4 separate regions of the Homo sapiens genome follow, and regions 2, 3 and 4 are each linked to region 1. Evidence: promoter capture Hi-C in 16 types of primary human blood cells and fetal thymus (Javierre and others, 2016). All regions are on one chromosome and are shown on one strand. Each heading gives the region's core, a stretch centred on a gene start or on the middle of the fragment in contact. The rest is flanking DNA. Distances are from core to core; before and after follow the strand shown.

Region 1 (2,500 bases), core at 1-2,500:
TTCTTTCTTTTATAGAAGTAGGCTTCAAAGAAACAACGAAAGGTGCTAAAACTGGTCTCTGGATGAATCTCTGCTAGGACTTAGAGAAACATGGAGACCTAGTTGTTATCATACAACTTGTCTTGCTGCCACTTGTCCTGTCCCTTCAAGGAGTTATGGTTATCAGGAAAAAAGCCAATTAACAAACTCTGCTTAATTTTTGTGGTGATAATTAATCAACTCTAAGATTTCAGCATAAAATCCCAACACCTTGCCCTGTGTGACAAGACCCTAAGTGCCTTGCTCCTGCCTGGCTCTCCAGCTGCATCTTGTCACTCTACACTCCTTACTCGACTCCAGCCACACTGGCCAAGGCCTGCTGTCTCCAGATCTTGCATAACCGCCTTCACACATCTGCTCGGAGTTCACTTCCAGTCTTCCTATTCCTAGCCCCATGAGCTACTGAACACTTGAAATGTGTCTAGTCTGAACGGAAATGTGCTGGAAGTATAAAATATACACCGGATTTTTATGACTTAGTAGATATAAAAGAAATATCTTATTAATAATCTCATATTGATTGCCTGTTGAAATATTTAAAATATGTTGGGTTATTATTAAAATTAATTTGATCTGTTTCTTTTTACTTTTTTTTTTTTTTTTTTGAGACGGAGTTTCGCCCTTTTGTCCAGGCTGGAGTCAAGTGGCATGATCTCGGCTCACCGCAACCTCCACCCCCACCCCGCCCGGGTTCAAGCCATTTCTCCTGCCTCAGCCTCCCAAGTAGCTGGGATTATAGACGCCCGCCACCAAGCCCAAGTAATTTTTGTATTTTTAGTAGAGACGGGGTTTTGCCATGTTGGCCAGGCTGGTCTTGAACTCCTGACTTCAGGTGATCACCTGCCTCAGCCTGCCAAAGTGCTGGGATTACAGGCATGAGCCACCGCGCCCGGCGTTCTTTTCACATTTTATGTGGCAATTGGAAAATTTAAAATTACACTCATGGCTCACACTGTTTCCATCGGACAGCGCTACCCTATGGCATGACCCTCTTTTGCTGCCCTCCTGGCACTTACATTGTAGAATTTCAGCATCCGGGCTCACTTGGTCAGTGGCCTACTCACCCAAGCAGAATGTACCACAGAAACCTTGCCTGGCTCACCCACACCTGATTCCCAGGCACTCAGGCCAGGGCCTGGAGCATAGTAAGTGCTGACTAAATATCTTTCGAATGAATGACTCTACTCTTCCTCAGCTGGACTCATGAATTCTGTCGGGTCCCAAAATACGTGGTCTAAAGTCCTTTGGGCTCCTGCCGCTGCCAGCACTGATCATATGCTCTTGACCCTGGTCGGGTGGGGGGATGTCTGGATACCTCCTCTGTGGAAAGAACTGGCCACACATCCGCAGAGGTGACTCGGGCTGAGAACCCAGGCTCCTCCTCCCTTTGGTGACACGCCCCTCGGTCCCTCACTGGCACTTCTCCCTCCGGCCACACGGCGGCGTCTCGCCATAGCGCAGCGGCCGATGGTACAGCCCGCTCCCCCCTCGCGCTCTCGGACAGTGGGTCCTTCCACTTGTAGAAAAGCATTGTGGGACGGAAGCCTGTCCTTTCTTCCTTTTGGTGCGAGCTTGCTGTGGTTTTTGCTCTGGGTCCTCTGGGATGGCGCCTGGCTGTGGCCGCGTGGTCTCTCACGCAGGGGCGCCGGGCGGGGGAACGCGGCCACCCTGAGTCTGGTGAGTCGACTGCGGCGGCCTGTGTCCGAAGTGTCCGGGGCCGTGAACAAGGGCAGCGGCCTGGCCTCAGGCCTGCGTTCCCACGTTTGGAAACGGGGAGCTTCGTCGATTTGTGTTTACATCATCGACTATGCCAGGGAGTTCTCCAGATAAGCCTGGTTTTATTTTCGTCAGTGAAAAGGCCTTACCGTATAACTGACTTTATGCTTGCCCTGCCCCCGTATAAAATAACTTAAAAGCAGCGTGCCTGGTTACAGCTGTTTCCACGTGCGGTGCTCGTCGGGAGTGATCACCTACCCTACAGGTGAGTTTTCACGTTCGTGCAAGACCAGTCGCCATTTAAAACGCATCGCATTTCACTTTTCATTATTAAGTCGGATTTTAAATCGTGAGAAAATTTCTCTGAAATGTATTGTCCGTTTTTAGGCTGTAATCGGCATTACTGTCAGCCAGTCAGCAACCTTATGCCATAAAGCCTACCTCACGCAGTGTCAGCCTTTGTGTTGCCCATTCACTTTGGAAACTAGTGAATGTGGTGTCAAAAAAGGCGTAAATTAAACGCTTTGCAGCCTTTTCCTGCCCTTAAATTTGATACCTTTGGTGTAGGAGCTGCATAAGTAACAGTTGCTGCTTTTACGTTTCCACGCGTGATCTTGACCCTGCTAGCCTTAAGTGTATGGTTTCTCTTAGCCAGTTCTAATTTTTGTTCAGGTGGAAGATGGATGCCTGAAGTGTAGACTGCTGCTAGCTGAATACCATCTGGGAGCATAAAGGTGACCTGAAG
Region 2 (3,662 bases), core at 745-3,244, 600 kb before region 1:
AACTGAGTCATCTCTTTCTCTCTTAGTCAATCTAGCTTAAAGTTTGTCAATTTCATTGATCTGTTCAAATAATCAACTTTTGGTTTCATTGATTTTTTCTGTTGCTTTTCTATTCTCTTATCTCTGATTTAATTTTTAATTATTTTCTTCCTTCTGCTGGCTTTGGGTTTAGTTTATTCTTCTTTAGTTTATTACTTATTGTAAGGTTAGGTTATTGATTTAAGATCTTTCTTGTTCTTTTAATGTAAACATTTGTAGCTATAAATTTCCCCTTTAGCATGACCTTCACTGTGCACTATATTCTGTAAGTTTTGGTATGTTCTGTTTTTATTTTTAGTTTTCTCTAAGAATTTCACAATTTCCCATTTGTTTTCTTCTTTGATCATTAGCTTTTCAACACTGCATCATTTAATTTCCACAAATTTGTAACTTAAAAAAATTGTACTGGTGTTATTGATTTCTAACTTTAACCTATTGTGGTTAGAGAAGATGCTTTGTATGATACTTGCCTTTTAAAGCCTAATGAAACTTAATCTGTGGTAAAACATACAGTGTATCCTCTAAAATGTCCCATGTGCATTGGAGAAACGTGTGCTGTTTTTGTTGGGTAAAATATTCTGTATATATCTATTATTATGTTAAGTCTGCTGTTTCCTTACTCGTCTTCTATCTGGTTGTTCTAGTCATTATTTAGAGTGGCATAATAAAGTCTCCAGTTATTATTGTAGAACAGTCTGTTTCTGCCTTCAATTATGTCAGTTTTTGCTTCCTATACTTTGGTAGTTATTAGGTGCATAAATAATTTTTATTATTATATCTTCTCACTGCATTAATATTTTTGTGAATATATAATTTCCTTCTCAGTGTTTTGTAATCTTTTTTGATTGAAAGTGTATTTTGTCTGATATTAGTGTAGCCACTTCTGCTCTCTTTTTGTTACTATTTCCATAGAATATCATTTTCCATCCTTTCACTTTATTTGTATCTTTGGATCTAAAGTGAGTTTCTTATAGACAGCACTTAGTTGGATCACATGTTTTCATCCATACTGCTGTCTTTTTATTGGAAAGTTTAGTACATTTACATTTAGAGTGATTACTGATAAGAAGAGACTTCTATTATTTCACTATTTTTTATTTTATATTTTATTTTTATTATTCTATATTTCACTATTTATTATTATATTATAGTGAAGTGTTTAAATTTTTCTCATGTCTAAATTCCCATACCATGGAGATTACATTTAACATCTTAAAGTGAATATGCTTTAATTTGAATTTATACCATTTTAACTTCAGTTACGTATAAAAACTCTGCTTGTTTACAACTCTGTCCTCACCTCTTTAAGTTGCTGATGTCACAGAATTACATCTTTATACACTGTGTGCCCCAAAACATAAACTAATAGTTTTTTAAAAATGTATTAGTCTCTGAAATTGTGTAGAAAACAAAATGTGGAATTAGAAACTGAAGTTACCATAATACTCATTTTTAAACTGATTTTAATGGCTTTGTCTCTTTAATCATGGTGTAAAAAAAAGTGGAACTACAAACTGTTGTTACAATACTAGCTTTTCTAATTGCTCACATATTTACTTTCATTGAGATATTTATTTCTTCACATGACTTTGAATTACCATCCATTGTTCTTTTATTTTATCCTGCAGGACTCCCTTGATCATTTTCTTTTTTTACAGAGAAGGTCTAGTGGTAATAAATTCTCTCAGCTTTAGTTTGTCTAGGAATGTCTTAATTTTTCCCTCATTTTTGGACAACAGTTTTGCCAGAAATAGGATTCTTAGCAGAGAGATTTTTTTTTTCTTTTAGCACTTTGACTATATGACCCACTATCTTCTAGCCTCCAGAGTTTCTGATGAGAAATTTTCTGAAAATCTTATTCATGATCCCCTTTTTGTGACTAGCCACCTTTCTCTGTCACTTTCAAAACTCTCTCATTGTCCTTTGTAAGTTTGTTTATAGTGTGTCTTGGTGTGAGTTTCTTTGAGTTCATCATTGAGCTTCTTGGATGTTTATATTAACATCAACATATTCAGGAAGTTATTAGCCATTGCTTCCTCAAATATTCTTTCTGCCCCCTTCTCTCTCTCTTTCCTCCCTCTGGAACTCACACAATGTATATGTTGGTCTGTTTGATGGCGTCCCACAGATCCCTGAGGATTCTTCACTTTTCTTCAATCTTTTTTCTTTCTGTTCCTCAGGCTTGATAATTTCCATTGTCCTCTTCAAGTTTACTGCTTCTTTCTTCTGTCTGATCAAATCTGCCTTTGAATCCCTCTGCCAAATTTTGCATTTTAGTTAGTGTACTTCTCAGCTTCAAATTTTCTTTTTGGTTTCTTTCTAGGTTTTGTATATGTTTATTAATATTTCCCTTTTGTTTATACTTCATTTCTTGACTTTCTCCACATCTCCCTTTGGTTCCTTGCTCATCTTCAAGACAATTGTTTTAAAGTCTTTATCTAGTAGTTCTCTTTCAGGAGCAGCTTCTGTTGCTTATTTGTTGCTCTTTGAATGGTCAATAGTTTCCTGTTTCTTTGTGTGTTTTATAGTTTTTTTTGTTGTTAAAAGCTGGACATTTGAATCTAATATTCTGGTAATTCTGAGAATCAGTTTTTCTCTTTCCCAGGTTTGAGTTATTGTTACTGCTTTTTAAAAATTGTAGGCTGTCTCTGGGCTGAGGATCAGCCTGAGATGTAAATTTAAGGTCTTCTCATGTCTTTTCTGAGCCTTTCTCTGGGCATGTGAAGTCACTTGCTAATTTTTCCCATATATGCAGTTATTTTTGGATGCCCTATTCTTTAACGTCTGGCTCCCAAAAGGAAAAAAAGAGAAAAATAAAGAGGGGGAAGGGCATCAGCCCTTTAAATTCCACCTCTTTGTTCACCACTCTGTGATCAGAAGCAGCAATAAGTGATGAAATATCCTTGATATTTGTAGGACAGGGTCCTTTTACGCCCACCCTGGCTCCTGGTAACTCTTTACATGCTGCTCCAGGAACACAAAACAACTTCTTGCCATGAGGCTAAGAGGTGGGGGATGGACAGCTGCCAATGTGCTAAAAGCTGCAATTGACTACAGTTTTTCATCCATGCCCTCCCCTGGAAATTTCAAGTCTTCGATAGACTCCAGAGTTCCAAAACAGTTACATCAGACAGAGTCTGCCAGTTCAATTGTTGTCTACAAGGGAAGATAGAATCCTTGTGCTTCCCCCTCTGCATCGTCCCAGTATCCTCTTAAAATGAAGTAATTTTTAATTCTAGAACTAATATATTATTAAAATATTAAATGTAAATGACTAAGGAATTACATTCTGATAGAGAACAATACTAGATGAAGTTTTCTGCTAATCTGTATCCTCAGGTAAATTTTCATGAGCCTAGGCATTTGCTTTATATAATCAAGCAATGCCAGAAGAGTGGGATGGACAATGAGCAATGTAAGAATTCAAAGACAAAACAAAACACGGTTGTCTGGTATGGTTATAGATGGCTTCAAGAAGAGGTAGGACTTGATCTGTCCTTCACAGGGTCATTAGATTTGAAAAAACAAAAACAAAACAAAACAGGTTAGAGGGGAAGTTTTTTCTGGGCAGAAGGCGCAGTAGAACCATGAGTTCAATGGGAGGAAACTATAAGATGCTTTCT
Region 3 (3,662 bases), core at 741-3,240, 580 kb after region 1:
CCTGTGCAGTGAATCATGTGCTTTCAGTAAGAGGATTTTGAAAGCCTTTTGTAAAATGAAGTCATTCTCAAAAGAGAGTTATTTAGAATATAATCAAATTGATTTACATGCTTTTATTTATTTCAAATATGAAGGGAAATTGTTTCTAAATATATTTAAACTTTTAATAGAACAGTAGTATGCCATCAGTGTGGAAATAACTCACTTGTTAAATAAATATTTGGGGTGTATTTGCTGTATATCAGGCATTGTAACACAGGGACTAATGAAAGAGAAAAAAAACAAAGCACGAAAGGACAGCAGAAATAGCTCCATAATCTCACTTTCCAGGAATAACCTCTATGGACATTTTGTTGTGTGTCTATTGCTTTTCTAATATATACATTTTTTAATCAAATGGAATTGCCTCAAATATGCTATTTAATAGCTTGCTTCTTTTCATACTATTTGAAAATTAAGAAACGATTATAATATGCTTCATTTAAAAACTTTAAGTTTAGGCCGGGCACAGTGGCTCACGCATGTAATCCCAGTACTTGGAGGGACCGAGGTGGGCGGATCACAAGGTCAGGAGATTGAGACCATCCTGGCCAGCATGGTGAAACCCCGTCTCTACTAAAAATACAAAACTTAGCTGGGCATGATGGCACGTGCCTGTAGTCCCAGCTACTTGGGAGGCTGAGGCAGGAGAATCGCTTGAACCCGGGAGGTGGAGGTTGCAGTGAGCGGAGATTGCACCACTGCACTCGCCTGGTGACAGAGCAAGACTCTATCTCAAAAAACAAACAAAGAAAACTTGAAGTATAGTATCCTTTTAAATTTTAAATAGATAATAGAAACTGGTTTCCCCCCATTTAAACCAGAATTTAAGTTTAACTTTATATATTCTTGACAGTTTGGATTTTGTCCTTCAACCTCATAAAATTGGGAATTTAAGCATCACCTGGTTCGATTTAAATGCAATGTAGAATTTGCATTAAAATACTACATTAAAGCCTCAGATTTGTAGTAGCTAACAGCACTTCTATGTATGTGTCAGGGACTGCTCTAAATACTTCATATATATTAACTCCTCTATTCTGTACTTCTGTTCCCGTTTTATACAGCAGGAAATTGAAACACTGAGAGGTTAAGTAACTAAAGTTACAGAGCTAGAGTGACAGGAGTAAAGCTTCAACTCAGGCAACCCAGACTTCCAGAGTTCTGATCTCCACTACTAAGCTGCTAGCATAGCTTTTCTGGTAACTATTTTTAATTCAAATATAATTCGAGTGATCTATCTAACAAGTCATCACTCTGACAACTCAGTGACTTGTAATGTAAAATTATTCATTGTAATTCATTTAATATTATTGTTTCTCTGTGCTGCAAAAATCATAGCAATCGAGATGTAATTTATTACTCTCCCTCCCACCTCCGGCATCTTGTGCTAATCCTTCTGCCCTGCGGACCTCCCCCGACTCTTTACTATGCGTGTCAACTGCCATCAACTTCCTTGCTTGCTGGGGACTGGGGCCGCGAGGGCATACCCCCGAGGGGTACGGGGCTAGGGCTAGGCAGGCTGTGCGGTTGGGCGGGGCCCTGTGCCCCACTGCGGAGTGCGGGTCGGGAAGCGGAGAGAGAAGCAGCTGTGTAATCCGCTGGATGCGGACCAGGGCGCTCCCCATTCCCGTCGGGAGCCCGCCGATTGGCTGGGTGTGGGCGCACGTGACCGACATGTGGCTGTATTGGTGCAGCCCGCCAGGGTGTCACTGGAGACAGAATGGAGGTGCTGCCGGACTCGGAAATGGGGTAGGTGCTGGAGCCACCATGGCCAGGCTTGCTGCGGGGGGAGGGGGGAAGGTGGTTTTCCCTCGCACTGTCTTAAACCGATGGCCTTTCCTTGGCACAGGGTCCACTGCAGCATGCCAAACGAGGAGGCAGGGGCGTCGTCCCCCCGCCCCCCACTGCAGCACTGGAGATGGATTTCCTGTACTTCGGATCCAGGGTTTTTGACAGAAGAGGAAGAAGGGGGAGGGGTAGAAGTGTTAAGGGGAGTCTGCTGAGAAAAGCTGTTTTTGAAGCCAGAAGGGGTTTTTGTTTTTATAATGCCATTTGACAGAGTGGAATAACAGTATCTAAGGAAACGGGTAGAGGACAACAAAGAATGGAGCATATTCATGGCGAGGAGCAAAAGCTCTACCCCATTGAAAGGCTTCTTTTCCTCCCTGGCGACAAGGACACATGCATTGGTGGCCAAAAGAGAGAGGAGACAAAACCGCTGCAGATGGCTGATGTGAATCTAGTGGAAAGAGCTACTGGGGATGAGAGAAAGAGGAGGAGGCAGGTACTGCAGAGCGTGAGTGGTGGTGTTGGTTGGTGAAATACTGGTCACCAGTAGTGTGCCTGCTTTTGTAAAACATCTAAGTAAACTCCCTGTGAACAGGGTGGCAAACAGATACCAGTGTCTTTGTTAGTTACAAAATGCAGTGGTAGTGGCTTTTTGCGGACGACTGCAGCAGTGCTTTTTCTCCCTCTGTTAGGCCGAAAAGACAACTGCAGAGGAATAAGAAACCTTGCAGCAAATGCTGGGGTAGAAGCCCATTTACAAGAAGCCATAGTTTATAAATGCAGCCTGAACAGCAGAAAAAAAATTACTGTTTTTTAAAGTAGGAATAATGTCAGGCTATGAATGTTTTGTCATTGGAATGTATTGGACACTTTGATTCTACATCACGAAAGTGATGCTCAAATTCTTTGATTTAACATAAATCCTATACGAAATCTTAATAAATTATGTATGAAACAGTGGATCTTTTCTTTTGTTAGTGAAGCTTTTATGCCATTAATTAGGTCATTCAAGAGCAAACCACTTTACAACGTAAATTACTTTGTCAAAAATTATGGTGAACAAATTTTTGTAGGCCTAATATTTAAGACCTATAGTTAAGTAATTTTATATTTCTCTTTGGTTGCTTTTAGATAACACTGAATAAATATTTAAGATATTAATTCAGTGTGCAAATATTTTAAATTAAAGCAACATGGCTTTTCTTCTAGATGTATTTCTGTTTAGTGAGTACTCATGAGATATACTCTTGATATAAAGTGTTTTTCATTGAGCTTTTTTTTCCTTTACCTAAATGTAAAAGCCTATCTTTATGCATACTTATAGTAGCCAGCCTGCCACACCTCCCCACTCCCTGAACAAGGATGGCAGTGGCTTTGTAAAGCCCTCCAGGGTCAGTGACAGTGTCTCTTAAATAATGTTTATGTAATAGAAAGTCTTAAGATGACCTATTATATTGTTTCAGTAATATTTTCAAGATAATGCGGAATTGGGCTGGCTTAGATAAATAAGACTACATAAGTTTTTCACTGATAAATTTAAATAGTTCTTTAAAAAATTATTTCTGCTTTAAGAATTACTTGATCATGGATATCAGGGTTAATAGTACTTAGGAGCCGGGCGTGGTGGCCCATGCCTGTAATACAAGCTAAACAGGAGGCTGAGGGAAGCTGAGGCAGGAGGATCACTTGAGCCTTGGCGTTCAAGACCAGCCTGGGCAACCAAGCAAGACCCTATCTCAAAAAAAAGTACTTAGAGTCTCTTTTTTAAAATCTGATGGAAACTATGGCTAGAACTAAAGATGTCACATTAAAATTCCAAATGACATTTAACA
Region 4 (3,662 bases), core at 483-2,982, 550 kb after region 1:
GTCACCTATTCTTTCTGTCCCTCTTTCATGTCAGACTTGCTACCACCTCAGGATCTGTTCTGTTGTTCCCTCTGTCTGAAAGCTTTTGCCCCAGATCTTCCAGTGGCTCCTGGGCCCCCATGGTCAGTCAGGCTTCAGATTAAATGTCAACTCTGGAGAAAGATCACTAATCACCACCTCTCACTGTCCATCATCTTTCTGTGTGGTTTGCTCTCTTCCTATCCCTTATCACCATCAAACATTCTTTTGTTGACTGTCTTTTATTGTCTATTCTTTCACACTAGAATGTAAGTTCCGTGAGTTTATTGTATTTCCTATTGCTGTAAATCTAGAGCCTGAAACAGTATCTAGTATATATCGGAAACCCAAATGATATTGTTCAATTAATGTTGAATGAAATGAAACTGAAGAGGTAATCCAAGGTAAAGAACTTATCAAACTGTGTGAGACAAACAAGGATTTCCCGGAAGAGGTGTTTTTAAATTAAAACTACAGGGTGGTAGTGAGAGGTGGTAGGGAAGCAGAGGTCGCAGCTACAAAATAATAACTTGCTCATCTCCGTTTCTCCGCTATCTTATGAGCCCTTGTGGGGCTGGGACAGAATTTTATTCATCTTTCTATCATCAGCGTCTAGTACGGGGAGTAGCAAATAGTGAGCACTCGATAGATGTTTGCGGAATAATGGACTAGTGTGTGCAGAAGGATCTATTAACTGGGCTGCAGCACAATTCAGAGAAGGCCAGTAAGTGCTGCAACTGAGACTCGGCTGCCTAGGCAGCAATGGCTCACGGGACAGAACAGCGAAGCAGTGCCCGGCAAGCGGAGCGCAGCACCCATTGCGCCTGCGCATAACAGGCTCTAGTCTCCGGGCTGTGGGAAGCCAGCAACACCTCTCACGCATGCGCATTGTAGTCTTCCCACCTCCCACAAGATGGCGGAGGGCAAGTAGCAAGGGGGCGGGGTGTGGCCGCCGGAAGCCTAGCCGCTGCTCGGGGGGGACCTGCGGGCTCAGGCCCGGGAGCTGCGGACCGAGGTTGGCTCGATGCTGTTCCCAGGTACTGTTGTTGGCTGTTGGTGAGGAAGGTGAAGCACTCAGTTGCCTTCTCGGGCCTCGGCGCCCCCTATGTACGCCTCCCTGGGCTCGGGTCCGGTCGCCCCTTTGCCCGCTTCTGTACCACCCTCAGTTCTCGGGTCCTGGAGCACCGGCGGCAGCAGGAGCTGCGTCCGGCAGGAGACGAAGAGCCCGGGCGGCGCTCGTACTTCTGGCCACTGGGCGAGCGTCTGGCAGGTGAGTGAGGCTGCAGGCATTGACGTCTCCTCCCGGCAAAGCTTCCTCGGCTTTGCCCCGCCGCTGCTCGGGACCCTACGGTGCTCGGCCCGACTCTGTGGCTCTCTTCTCTCCATGTCTCACCCTCTCCCCTCCCCGCACTCCCCATTCAGGCCTCCAGTTGGCCCCTGGCTTTGCAGGTCCTCCATTCTCACGCAGTGGATGGGGGTCGCGACGCCCGCCGTCCTCCACCTTTCCTGGCTGCTGCTGGAGCTTCGCCCCTGCAAGTGGTGCCCCATTCGCGTTAGGTGGGTGGGTCGTCCGCCCTTCCCATTTTAGTCGCTTCCCCATCTTCCTCGTTTGGACCCTCTTGCTTCCTCTAAAAGTTTTAAACTCTCTGCCTGGGAAAATACCTGATAGCCCGGCATGTGGAGTTACAAAGAAAGGGCTGTTATCCAAAGGCCGGTGAATTTTGTTCACTTTGATGGGAGAATCAAGTCCCCAGGAGCCTTGGATGGTTAGGTCAGAGTCTGACTCCTTGACCCACCAAGTAGAGGAATGGTGCCTCTGTTGGCAAATGATTGTTCATCTAAATCATTCATTTTTTTCGGCTGTAGGAAATCTTTGGTCTCTGAACTGTTGAGGTGGGGGCGTGAGCTTTCTAGATCTAGTGAAAGAATTGGAAACTGTTATATTCGTTTTAAAAAAGAAGACCTTATGCAGTACATGTAAGACATCACTTAATGGTACAAGCAAGGATAAGTGATTTATTCTTTTATTCAGTGTTAGCTTAAATTGCCTACTGACGTCTTAGAATTCCATGTTGTACAAGCCCTTTGTTTCTATTTAGAAAGGACTAAAATGGAGAAAAGCTTTTTAAGTTCAAAACTTCTTAAATTGCTTGTATTCTCGATTGTTGTTACTGTTCAACCCTCCTTAGGAGTACTTGATATTTTCTATATGATTTAGTCTTGTGCCAGTCTCAGTACTCCCTCCTTTATTAGTGGAGCAAGGGTAGTCAGAATTACTGGTGTAAAAAACTGTCCTAAATAACGTAGTACCTTGCCAGAGTCTAAGTGCAAAATGTGGGATCAAAGCGGTAGTGGAGGAAGTTGCCATGGCTAATTTTTCCATCTTTCCCTGGATGGAAGGGTTGGATAACGTGTCAAGAGCCCCAAAATTGTAGAAGTGAGATTAAAAATATAAATGATAGCTTGCCCTTTGAAATTGCAAATGGGTGGACCTTTTTTATTAACATTAAATTGAGCAATATCGTTTTCTTGAAGTTATGCTAGATGTTCTCCAAAGTTGTTAAGCACAAACTATGCCTGCTGTATTAGAATTGTATGTTAAAAATTTTTAACGTGTGGGTTATAAATAGCCTGGCAGATTTGTTTACTTTTCATTCTGTCTCATAACACATAATCTATTTTTCCCTTTACTGTGGACTTTTGACCTTTTAATGCATTTTTAAAATTTAGAGATAGAATTGTTCAGCTTAAAAGAAGGAGGAATATTTTTATGTTTGCTTCTTGTATGGGCTAGTTCATTCGTTGCTAGCCTTCACTTTTCTGGAACCAGAGCCTGTGTGTTTTTAGAGCTGGTTGTCTCTGAATTCTCTGCATACAGTTTGAAGGGGCAGTAGCAAAGCAGGGGTTGCTGAGCCCCAATCAGTGGCTCACTGCTTCTGGCAAAATGATTTGTAGCTCTGTATCAAAAAACATCTGACCACAAACTCTTTAAAACCTCTCACTTTGGCAGGGTGTGGTGGCTCATGCCTGTAATTCCAGCACTTTGGGAGAGGCCAAAGCGCATGGATCGCATGAGTCCAGGAGTTCGAGACCAGCCTAGGCAACATGGCAAAGCCTCATCTGTACAAAAAAAAATACAAAAATAAGCCAGGCATGGTGGTGCATGCCTGTGATTCCAGCTACTTGGGAGGCTGAGGCAGGAGGATTGTTGGAGCCCGGGATGTGGAGGTTGCAGTGAGCCAAGATTGTGCCATTGCACTCCAGTCTGGGTGACAGTAAGACCCTGTCTCCTAACAAACAAACAAACCCTCTCACTCTTCCACTCTTATGGAATTTGGTATTTTTTCCTTTCTCTCTCTCTTTCTCTTTGTGAACCTTCTTTGTCTCCCTGTTCTTCCAACCCATTACCCTAATGCTGATTTCATTTGCCTCCCTGTGTAACCAGGATCCCATGATCATCAGCTTTTACTAAGCTCCTATTGATGGCCTAGAATGCTTCACTTTCTGTAGACTTACCTTTCTAGTCCCCAATCCTAAATAAGCCTCGCTAGCTTTACCAGTTTGACCCCTGAAATTCTGAGGGACATCAGAGACAGCTATGTGAGGATATTGGTCAGTTTTTATGCCAGTTGGTGCTCTCTGCT

The links. Contacts are between HindIII fragments. The CHiCAGO score rates a contact against its expected background, and 5 or more counts as called.
Region 2: a contact is called between a fragment that was not itself captured here and the fragment with the promoter of EPB41L4A-AS1 in region 1, in 10 of 17 cell types (monocytes, naive B cells, megakaryocytes and 7 more). The highest score is 11.2, in monocytes.
Region 3: a contact is called between a fragment that was not itself captured here and the fragment with the promoter of EPB41L4A-AS1 in region 1, in 1 of 17 cell types (total B cells). The highest score is 6.3, in total B cells.
Region 4: a contact is called between a fragment that was not itself captured here and the fragment with the promoter of EPB41L4A-AS1 in region 1, in 1 of 17 cell types (total CD8 T cells). The highest score is 5.1, in total CD8 T cells.

The regions. Positions count from the first base shown.
Region 1 is chr5:112,159,276-112,161,775 of GRCh38, forward strand. EPB41L4A-AS1 (EPB41L4A antisense RNA 1) reads left to right here and starts at 1,251. Exons shown (of 3, transcript NR_015370.2): 1 at 1,251-2,020; 2 at 2,428-2,500. It overlaps SNORA13 (small nucleolar RNA, H/ACA box 13), which reads left to right and starts at 2,210; the gene lies at 2,210-2,342. It also overlaps a transcript of EPB41L4A not described here. RefSeq lists enhancers at 1,118-2,317, 1,136-1,345, 1,218-1,950, 1,726-1,825, 1,846-1,895 and 1 more. The HindIII fragment of the contact is 7,805 bases long and covers 1-2,500 here.
Region 2 is chr5:111,558,141-111,561,802 of GRCh38, forward strand. The region is part of intron 1 of STARD4-AS1 (STARD4 antisense RNA 1); the gene reads left to right. Among named protein-coding and RNA genes, the nearest start is that of STARD4, 47 kb to the left of the region's middle. The HindIII fragment of the contact is 4,109 bases long and covers 1-3,662 here.
Region 3 is chr5:112,736,135-112,739,796 of GRCh38, forward strand. APC (APC regulator of Wnt signaling pathway) reads left to right here and starts at 1,751. Exons shown (of 16, transcript NM_000038.6): 1 at 1,751-1,791. The HindIII fragment of the contact is 1,642 bases long and covers 1,170-2,811 here.
Region 4 is chr5:112,706,595-112,710,256 of GRCh38, forward strand. It overlaps a transcript of APC not described here. Among named protein-coding and RNA genes, the nearest start is that of APC, 29 kb to the right of the region's middle. RefSeq lists an enhancer at 884-943. The HindIII fragment of the contact is 810 bases long and covers 1,328-2,137 here.